Regions from separate parts of the Homo sapiens genome. Here region 1 is linked to region 2. Evidence: promoter capture Hi-C in 16 types of primary human blood cells and fetal thymus (Javierre and others, 2016). All regions are on one chromosome and are shown on one strand. The core of a region is centred on a gene start or on the middle of the fragment in contact, and the rest is flanking DNA. Distances in the headings are between cores, read along the strand shown.

Region 1 (4,095 bases), core at 131-2,630, 160 kb after region 2:
TTTAAAGTCTTAACAACAACCCTGCAAGGTAGTACAATTATTTCCCTCCCACTGGTGAAGGGCATGCATTCCCGTGTGACTCCTGGGATTACAGCAAGGGTTGTGTCCAAAGCTCACAGCGTTGAGGAAGAGAGAGCAACCTGTTACTAAAGCTAGGCGACAGAGTCCATGCAGTTCCCCCCCGTTTTTTGTTTTTCTTGGCACTTTAGATTCAAGAAACACAAGTCGTGAGACTTTAAGGAGTAAGTAGCAGAAACGTGATTAAGGAAAAAAGTTGAGCAACTATAGAAGTGAGGCCCCAGAAAGGGGCTTCACCAAGACCCCCGCTATCTTTGTTAGTGTGCTTTGAGTCTGAGAATTTTTCCTAGGTGTGCAATGATCTGTGGTCACATTACAGAGCCAAGTCTGAGATGCTTCACACGCCTGGTCCTCTGCACCAACAGAGGGTCTCCCATCCAGACGCTTCCCCTACTTGGTTCGCTATGTTTGCATTGGCATTTCTACATATCTATATATAGAGAATTACCTATCTAATTTATCTATCTCGCTAATCTATCTACCATCTGTCTAGGTATCTATTATCTATCTACCTATCTATCTTTATCTGTCTCTGTACCTACTTACCTATCATCTATCCAATCTATCCGTCCTATCTAATTATGATTTATCTATCTACCTACTTGCCTATCACCTATCCAATCTATCTATCCTATCATATGTAATTAACTATCTGTCTGTCTAATTTTTCTATCTTGTTAATCTATCACTTATCTAGGCATCTATGTATCTATCTTTATCTGTCTATCCACCTGCTTACCTGCTGTCTGTCTAATCTATCCATCCTATCATATCTAATTATCACTTATCTATCTACCGACTTACCTATCATCTAGTTACCAAATCTATCATCTATCTAATGTATCTATCAATCATAACCAGTTATCTATCATCTATCATCTATCATCTGTATGTATCTGTCTATTCACCTACTATTATCTATTTAATCTATTCTATCTAGTTATCTATCTATCTATCCACCTACTTATCTAATTTTTCTATCTTGCAACTCTATCACCTATCTAGGTATCTATGTATCTATCTGTGTATCTGTATATCTATCTATCTATCTAGCTAGCTTTATCTAGCTACCTAGTTACCTATCATCTATCTATCTAATCTATCATCTATCTAATGTATCTATCAATCATATCTAATTATCTGTCTATCTAATCATCTATCTTATCTATTATATCTAGTTATCTATCATCTAGCTAGCTAGCTAATCTATCTGTATCTATCTACCTACTTACCTATCGTCTATTTATCTATCTAATCTATCATATCTAGTTATCTATCTACTTACTTATCTAACCTGTTGTATCTAGTTATCTATCTACCTACTTACCTATCATCTGTCTATCTATCTAATCTGTCCATCGTATCTAGCTACTTATCTACCTATCATCTATGTATCTATCTAATCTATCATATCTAGTTATCTATTTATCTGCCTACTTGCCTATTATCTATCACATCTAATTATCTATCTATCCCCCTCCCTGAAATAAGGTTCTTTCTGAGCTGATCATCAGGGAGCAGCAAAAGGAGTGGGGAGTTTGAAACAAGACATATTTGAGTTCTAGTACTGGGTCTCCTACCTCCTGACTTTGTAAATGTTCCCTTCCCTTTCTGGAATACGTTATTTTTTGGTTAAATATAAGGAGGGGGCAGAGAGCTAATAATATCTAACTTGAAGAGTTAGGTAATGATGAAAAATCCTGGCTTTAAAGCGCTCAGTCTAGAAACTGACTCATTGTGTCGGATAATGGGATTGTAGGTATAATGATGATTTTTTTTCACCCAATATTCCACCTACACCCATCTCTCTCTGTAATAGATTCTGTCAATGTTCCTCAACCCATGTTCCCCAGATCCCTTTCCCATTTTTATGCATTCTAGATCGTGGCTTCTTTCCCTTTCCAAAGTGAACATTTGTATCTCTTCTTTGGGGGACTGCCTGGGAGAACTCCAAATGCCTTGGAATTTACATGCCCGGGACAAACTGCCACTGACGGCTGTGGGGACCCCAGCTCCCTAGCCTCTGGTCTTCGACCTTCTCTGTCTCCACTGCTTTCTGCAGGATGGAGCCAAAGATACCATCTGAGGGACACAGATATCCCACACTTGTTTAATCTATTTTCCTCCCAGCCCTTCTTCCCCACTCCCTAAAATGTAATTTTCAAGCCAGGCGTGGTGGCTCACACCTGTAATCCCAGCACTTTGGGAGGTCGAGGCAGGCAGAGCACCTGAGGTCAGGAGTTCGAGACCAGCCTGACCAACATGGAGAAACCCCGTCTCTACTAAAAATAGAATATTAGCTGGGTGTGGTGGTGCATGCCTGTAATCCCAGCTATTTGGGAGGCTGAGGCAGGAGAATCTCTTGAACCTGGTAGGCGGAGGTTGCAGTGAGCCAAGATCACGCCATTGCACTCCAGCCTGGGCAACAAGAGCGAAACTCTGTCTCAAAACTAAATAAATAATAAATAAAATAAAACGTCACTTTCACACTAATGCTGTCTAAGAGCCTGCTTCTGGTGGAGCTGAATCAGAGAACCCCTCAAAAGCAACAATTTTTTTTTTTTTGAGACAGTCTCACTCTGTCTCCCAGGCTGGAGTGCAGTGGTACAATCTCGGCTTTGGAACCTCCCCCTCTGGGGTTCAAGCAATTCTCCTGCCTCAGCCTCCCAAGGAGCTGGGATTACAAGCACCCGCCACCTCACCCCGCTAATTTTTTATATTTCTAGTAGAGATGAGGTTTCACCATGTTGGTTAGGCTGGTCTCAAACTCCAGAGCTCAAGTGTTCTGCCCACTTTGGCCTCCCAAAGTGCTGGGATTACATAAGCCACCATGCCTGGCCATAAGCAACAATTCTATCAGTGCATCTCCAAGGACTTATGAAAACAGGGCAGGAACAGCTGCTCCTGGACTCTCAGTTTCCCCAGATGGAAGCAGAGAAACAGCAGCCTTGCCTTGTCCTTTCTGTTCTCCCCTTTTCCAGCCTACGGTATCTTTCACACAGCAATTCACTAGAAATGAGAAGTACATTATTGCAAAATTCTCATCTTCATATGACCCCATAATCAGCTGAACTGGGTTCACCCTGAGATGTCCACAGATCCTGGCCAAATGTTGCATCAGTATTTGCAAATTGCCAGAATAAATCATAACTTGCTACGCTACTAAAGTCAGCGTGAGCAACAAGATACAGCCTGACACGGGGCATAAATGGAGGCACAGGCACCAGAAAGAAAGTCAAGTCTTGTGTGATAAAATTCATCTTCATTCTCTACATTGCGATTGAACATAGAGTCGTTTTCTAGTGTGTTTTAGGCATATAAATACAGGCTGGGGACATCATACCTGTGCTTACAGATATTTTACTTTTATTTTATTTATTTACTGAAACAGGGTCTCGCTCTGTCACCCAGGCTGGAGTGCTGTGGCGCAATCACAGTTCACTGAAGCCTCAACCTCCTGGGCGCAAACGATCTTTCTGCCTGAGCCTCCCAAGTAGCTGGGACTACAGGTGCACACCACCACGCCTGGCTAATTTTTGTATTTTTTGTAGAGATGGGATCTTACCAAGTTGTCCAGGCTGGTCTTGAACCCCTGGGCTCAAGTGATCCTCCTGCCTCATCTTCCCAAAGTCCTGGTATTACAGACGTGAGCCACTGCGCCCGGCAAAGATATTTTATTCTGTTTAGAATTGTGATGATACAAATTTGAACTCAAAAAGTACATTTTAAGAAATTATATAATACCCACTGGGATGGCTATAATTTAAAAAAAGAAAAGTAAGTGTTGACAAGGATGTGGAGATATTGGAACCCACATATATTACTGGAAGGAATATAACATGATACAGCCACAATGGAAAATGATTTGGCAGTTCCTCAAAAAGTTGAACATAATAGTCACCATATGTCCTAGCAAATCCACTTCTAGGTACATACTCAAGATAATTTACAGCGCGGAGACAAACAGATACTCCTACCACAGTGTTCCAGCACCATTACTCGCTTTAGCCAAGAGGT
Region 2 (4,325 bases), core at 1,402-3,901:
CGTGGTTGCCCCTGGCAACAGAGAGGGTCTCCCGGGAGCGGGGACTGGGAAGCGCTCCCGAGCCGGGGAGGCGCAGAGCCCGACCAGAGAGAGGCGGGGACGCGGGTAGAGCGACCAAGAGGTGTGGAGGCCGGAAGAGACTGACCGCGCCGGCCCTTGGAGAGACCCCTTTCCTGAGAGGGGGCGCACAGAGAGGATGCCGAAGCCAGCGAGATCTAGAGAGAGGGAGACAGGGATTGAATCACAGAGACACTTAGAGGGAGGGAGAGACCTCAAAGACAGAGAGATTCACAGGGCCAGAGAGACACGTAGAGTGGGTCAGAGAAGAGGACAGAGGACAGAGACATAGAAAAGACAGGAGGGAGAGAGACTGAATCACAGAGACACAGGGAGAGAGGGAGAGACCTCAGAGATGGAGAGAGACTCACAGGGCCAGATAGACACATGGAGTGGGTCAGAGAAGGGGACAGAGAGAGAGACACAGAAAAGGGAAGAGGGAGAGAGACTGAATCACAGAGACACAGAGAGGGAAGTCTCTATCTAGAGACCCTCGACAGAGATTCCTAGAGCCAGAGACAGAGATTCAGAGAGCCAGAGACACAGAGAGATTCATAGAGACATATAGAGAGATTCAGAGAGCCTGAATCACAGAGATTCACAGAGCCAACGAGACAAACAGAGAGATTCATAGAGCCAGAGACACAGATTCGGAGAGTCAGAGAGACATAGAAAGATTCATAGAGCCAGAGACACAGAGATTCAGAGAGTCAGAGAGACATAGAGAGACATTCATAGAGCCAGAGACACAGAGAGATTCATAGACATATAGAGAGATTCAGAGAGCCTGAATCACAGAGATTCACAGAGCCAAAGAGACAAACAGAGAGATTCATAGAGCCAGAGACACAGAGGGATTCGGAGAGTCAGAGAGACATAGAAAGAGATTCATAGAGCCAGAGACACAGAGATTCATAGAGACATAGAGATTCATAGAGCCAGAGACACAGAGATTCAGAGAGTCAGAGAGACATAGAAAGACATTCATAGAGCCAGAGACACAGAGAGATTCAGAGTCAGAGAAACATAGAGATTCATAGAGCCAGAGACACAGAGAGATTCAGAGTCAGAGAGACATAGAGAGACATTCATAGAGCCGGAGACACAGAGAGATTCAGAGTCAGAGAGACATAGATTTATAGAGCCAGAGACACAGATTCAGGGAGTCAGAGAGACATAGAGAGACATTCATAGAGCCGGAGACACAGATTCAGAGTCAGAGAGACATAGACATTCATAGAGCCAGAGACACAGATTCAGAGAGTCAGAGAGATGAATAGATTCAGAGAGCCAGAGACACAGGGAGAGTGAATCACAGACACAGAGGGACGGGGAGATCCCCAGAAACAGAAAGAGATTCATAGAGCCAGAGAGACAAATAGAGATTGGGTCAGAGAGAAAGGGACAGAGACAGAGACAGAGAAGAGAAGAGGGAGAGAGATTGGGTCAGAGAGAAAGGGACAGAGACAGAGAAGAGAAGAGGGAGAGAGAGACTGAGTCATAGACAGGAGAGAGACCCCCCTAGCATCAGAGAGAGAGAGAGAGATCAACAGAGCCAGAGAGGGACAAGTACAGAGAAACAGATGGAACCAGAGAGATATAGGAAGAGACAAACAAAAACAGAGACGGAGTTGCAGAACCGGAGGAAGGGAGAGAGACAGAGACAAAGGCATTTATAAAGACGGGTGGAGGTGAGGAGAGAGAGGGAGAGACAGGGGCAAGCATTTAGAGAGTGACTCCCAGAGAGGAAGACAGAGACGGACTCCCAAAGAGATCAAGTTGCAGAGGGAGGGGGAGACAGAGTCACAGCCTGAGAGAGAATAGAGATTCACAGAGCCAGAGAGACAAAGACAGGGAAAGAAACAAACTCAGGGAGACAGAGGCGGAAGAATTTATCAGACGTAGAGGGAGAGACAGAGGGAGACTGATTCACAGTGAGGCAGACCAAGACCCCGAGAAGAACCACGACACCAAGACCCAGAGATGGCGACAGATACAGATGGAGACACACAGCAGAGGAAATAGAGAAATAGAAAGAAATAGAAACAGCATTTCTCGGAGACAGGGAAAAGAAAACAGATCCACTGAGAGGCAGAAACAGAGACACATCGAGAAAGCTCGCTCCAGGAATAGAGGGAGAGGGACAGAGGTCACAAGAAAGACACACGCAGGCAGAGAGCTACACAAATAATGGAGAGGCCAGGGGAGGAAATAAAGACTCAGCCGGCATCGGAGAAAGTGAGAACCTTAGCGCCCTGCCTGTCCACTGCTGGACCCCTAGCGTGGAGCATAAAGTTTGTTGAAGGAAGGAGAGGGGCAGGGTCAGACACAGGGACCCCAGGGCGCCCACAGGACACACGAGGCACCCTAGTGGGGGAGGAACGCGGGGCAGGATGACAGATTGCAGGGTGGTGGGGGGGAGCCAGGCTCAGAGGATGCCCCTCCCTCCAGCCAGCCCCCGGAGTGGGTGTGTGCACGTGTGGGGGGCGGGGAGGGAGGACATTTGTCCCGTGTCTCCGGGAGGGGAGCGCCTTTAAGCCGAAACCCCGCCCTCTCGGTCGTCCTGGCAACGCCTCCCCCAACCCGGGGCTCCCACATTTCAGCAGGTGCCGGAGCTGGAGCTCCCACCGCCGCCGCCCGTGCCTCCGGCTGCCGGCGCCCCTGCCTTTGGCTCTTCCTCCCCACTCGCCCGCTCCCCCTGGCGGAGCCGGCGCGCCCGGGGTGCCGCTCCCTGCCTGGCGCGCTCCGCACCTGGAGGTGCCTTGCCCCTCTCCTGCCCACCTCGGAATTTCCCTGTGGCTCCTTTGATCCTTCGAGTCTCCAGCTCCTCTCCCTTCCACCTGTTTCCCCCAAGAAAGGCAGGATCCTGGTCCCTGCTACGTTTCTGGGGCCATGGCTGGTCTGGGCCCCGGCGTAGGCGATTCAGAGGGGGGACCCCGGCCCCTGTTTTGCAGAAAGGGGGCCCTGAGGCAGAAGGTGGTCCACGAAGTCAAGAGCCACAAGTTCACCGCTCGCTTCTTCAAGCAGCCCACCTTCTGCAGCCACTGCACCGACTTCATCTGGTGAGGGAAGGGGGCTGGGGGACTGGGGGACGAGGGGACTAGGGGTGCAGACTCCTATCACGCCGACCCCTGTGGAAGGAAGAAGGAGGGGGCTGTAGTCCCGACTCCCAGGTTCTAGGATGGCCAGGGAACGCTGGGAGCTTCGACTCCTGGGTTTCAGTGAGGAGGAGGCTGGTTCCTGGAGTGCTGGGTCCGAGGGAGGAGGAGGCTGGAGGACAGAGGTCCTGGAGTCTTGGGTCTGAGGGAGGAAGGGCCTGGGGGGCTGGGAGCCTGGATTCCTGGGTCTGAAGGAGGAAGAAACTGGGGGCTGAACTCCAGTCTAAGGGAAGAAGGGCTGGGGGCCAAAATTTCTGGGTTCTAGAAAGAGGAGGTGGCCGGGGCTTGGACACCTGGGCCCTGCGGGAGGAGGGTCAGAGAGCGCAGGCCCCCTGTGGCTCGCAGAGGTTGGGGGTCCAGGTACCCCTTTCTGCACTGACCTAGGATCCCTGACTCTTCCAGGGGTATCGGAAAGCAGGGCCTGCAATGTCAAGGTAAGAGCTGGGGACCGGGGCTCCTGGGACCCTCAGGAGGGTGGAGGCTGGGGCCCCACAGCTGAGGCTGCTTGACACACGTGTTCTCTGGTCCCCAGAGAGGCGCGGGGGAGCCCGGGGCGGGGGGTGTGGCAGAGACACAGCCTGTGGTGGGGAGGGAGCTTTGATGGTGGGGCCACCGCGGAGGTGGTGCTGGGGGCCCCTCCCTCGGCCGGCTCCAGGTGGGGACAGATATTTGGAGAATCTGTTGCCATGGGAACATGGAGATTTGGAAAAGGGGAGCTGAAGGGGGGAAGGGGGAGGGGGCTGGAGATGCAAAGTCAGAGCCCCCCCCCACCCCAGGCTGCCGTCGCCATGACAACACCAGCCGTCCTAGGCAGGGGCAGGCCGGGTGGGGTCACCAATGGGCGAGTGGGGGCCGGGCGGGGCCGGCAGTTCTGGGGGGCGGGAGAGGGGGGCGAGTCCTTGAGCACCAGCTGCTACTGCTGAGAACAGAGTGAGTCAGGGTGGGGGGCGGGCCGGCAGCAGCGCCCCCAGACTCACTTCTGCCCAAGTTGCTGCTTCCTGGGCTGCGTCTGAAGATATTTCGGTTTTCGCTCTTTGAATCTGTCTGCCTCTCTCCTGGCTTTCTGATCTCCGTCCGTGGGCCTGTGTCTGTTTGTCAATGGGATCCTAT

The links. The method cuts DNA at HindIII sites, captures the fragments that hold promoters and counts their contacts. A CHiCAGO score of 5 or more calls a contact.
Region 1: a contact is called between a fragment that was not itself captured here and the fragment with the promoter of PRKCG in region 2, in 1 of 17 cell types (monocytes). The highest score is 5.3, in monocytes.

The regions. Positions count from the first base shown.
Region 1 is chr19:54,044,672-54,048,766 of GRCh38, forward strand. All of the region lies in intron 4 of VSTM1 (V-set and transmembrane domain containing 1), which reads right to left. Among named protein-coding and RNA genes, the nearest start is that of VSTM1, 17 kb to the right of the region's middle. The HindIII fragment of the contact is 7,023 bases long and covers 1-4,095 here.
Region 2 is chr19:53,879,546-53,883,870 of GRCh38, forward strand. PRKCG (protein kinase C gamma) reads left to right here and starts at 2,652. Exons shown (of 18, transcript NM_002739.5): 1 at 2,652-3,119; 2 at 3,618-3,649. The coding sequence starts at 2,950. RefSeq lists an enhancer at 3,104-3,655. The HindIII fragment of the contact is 17,886 bases long and covers 1-4,325 here.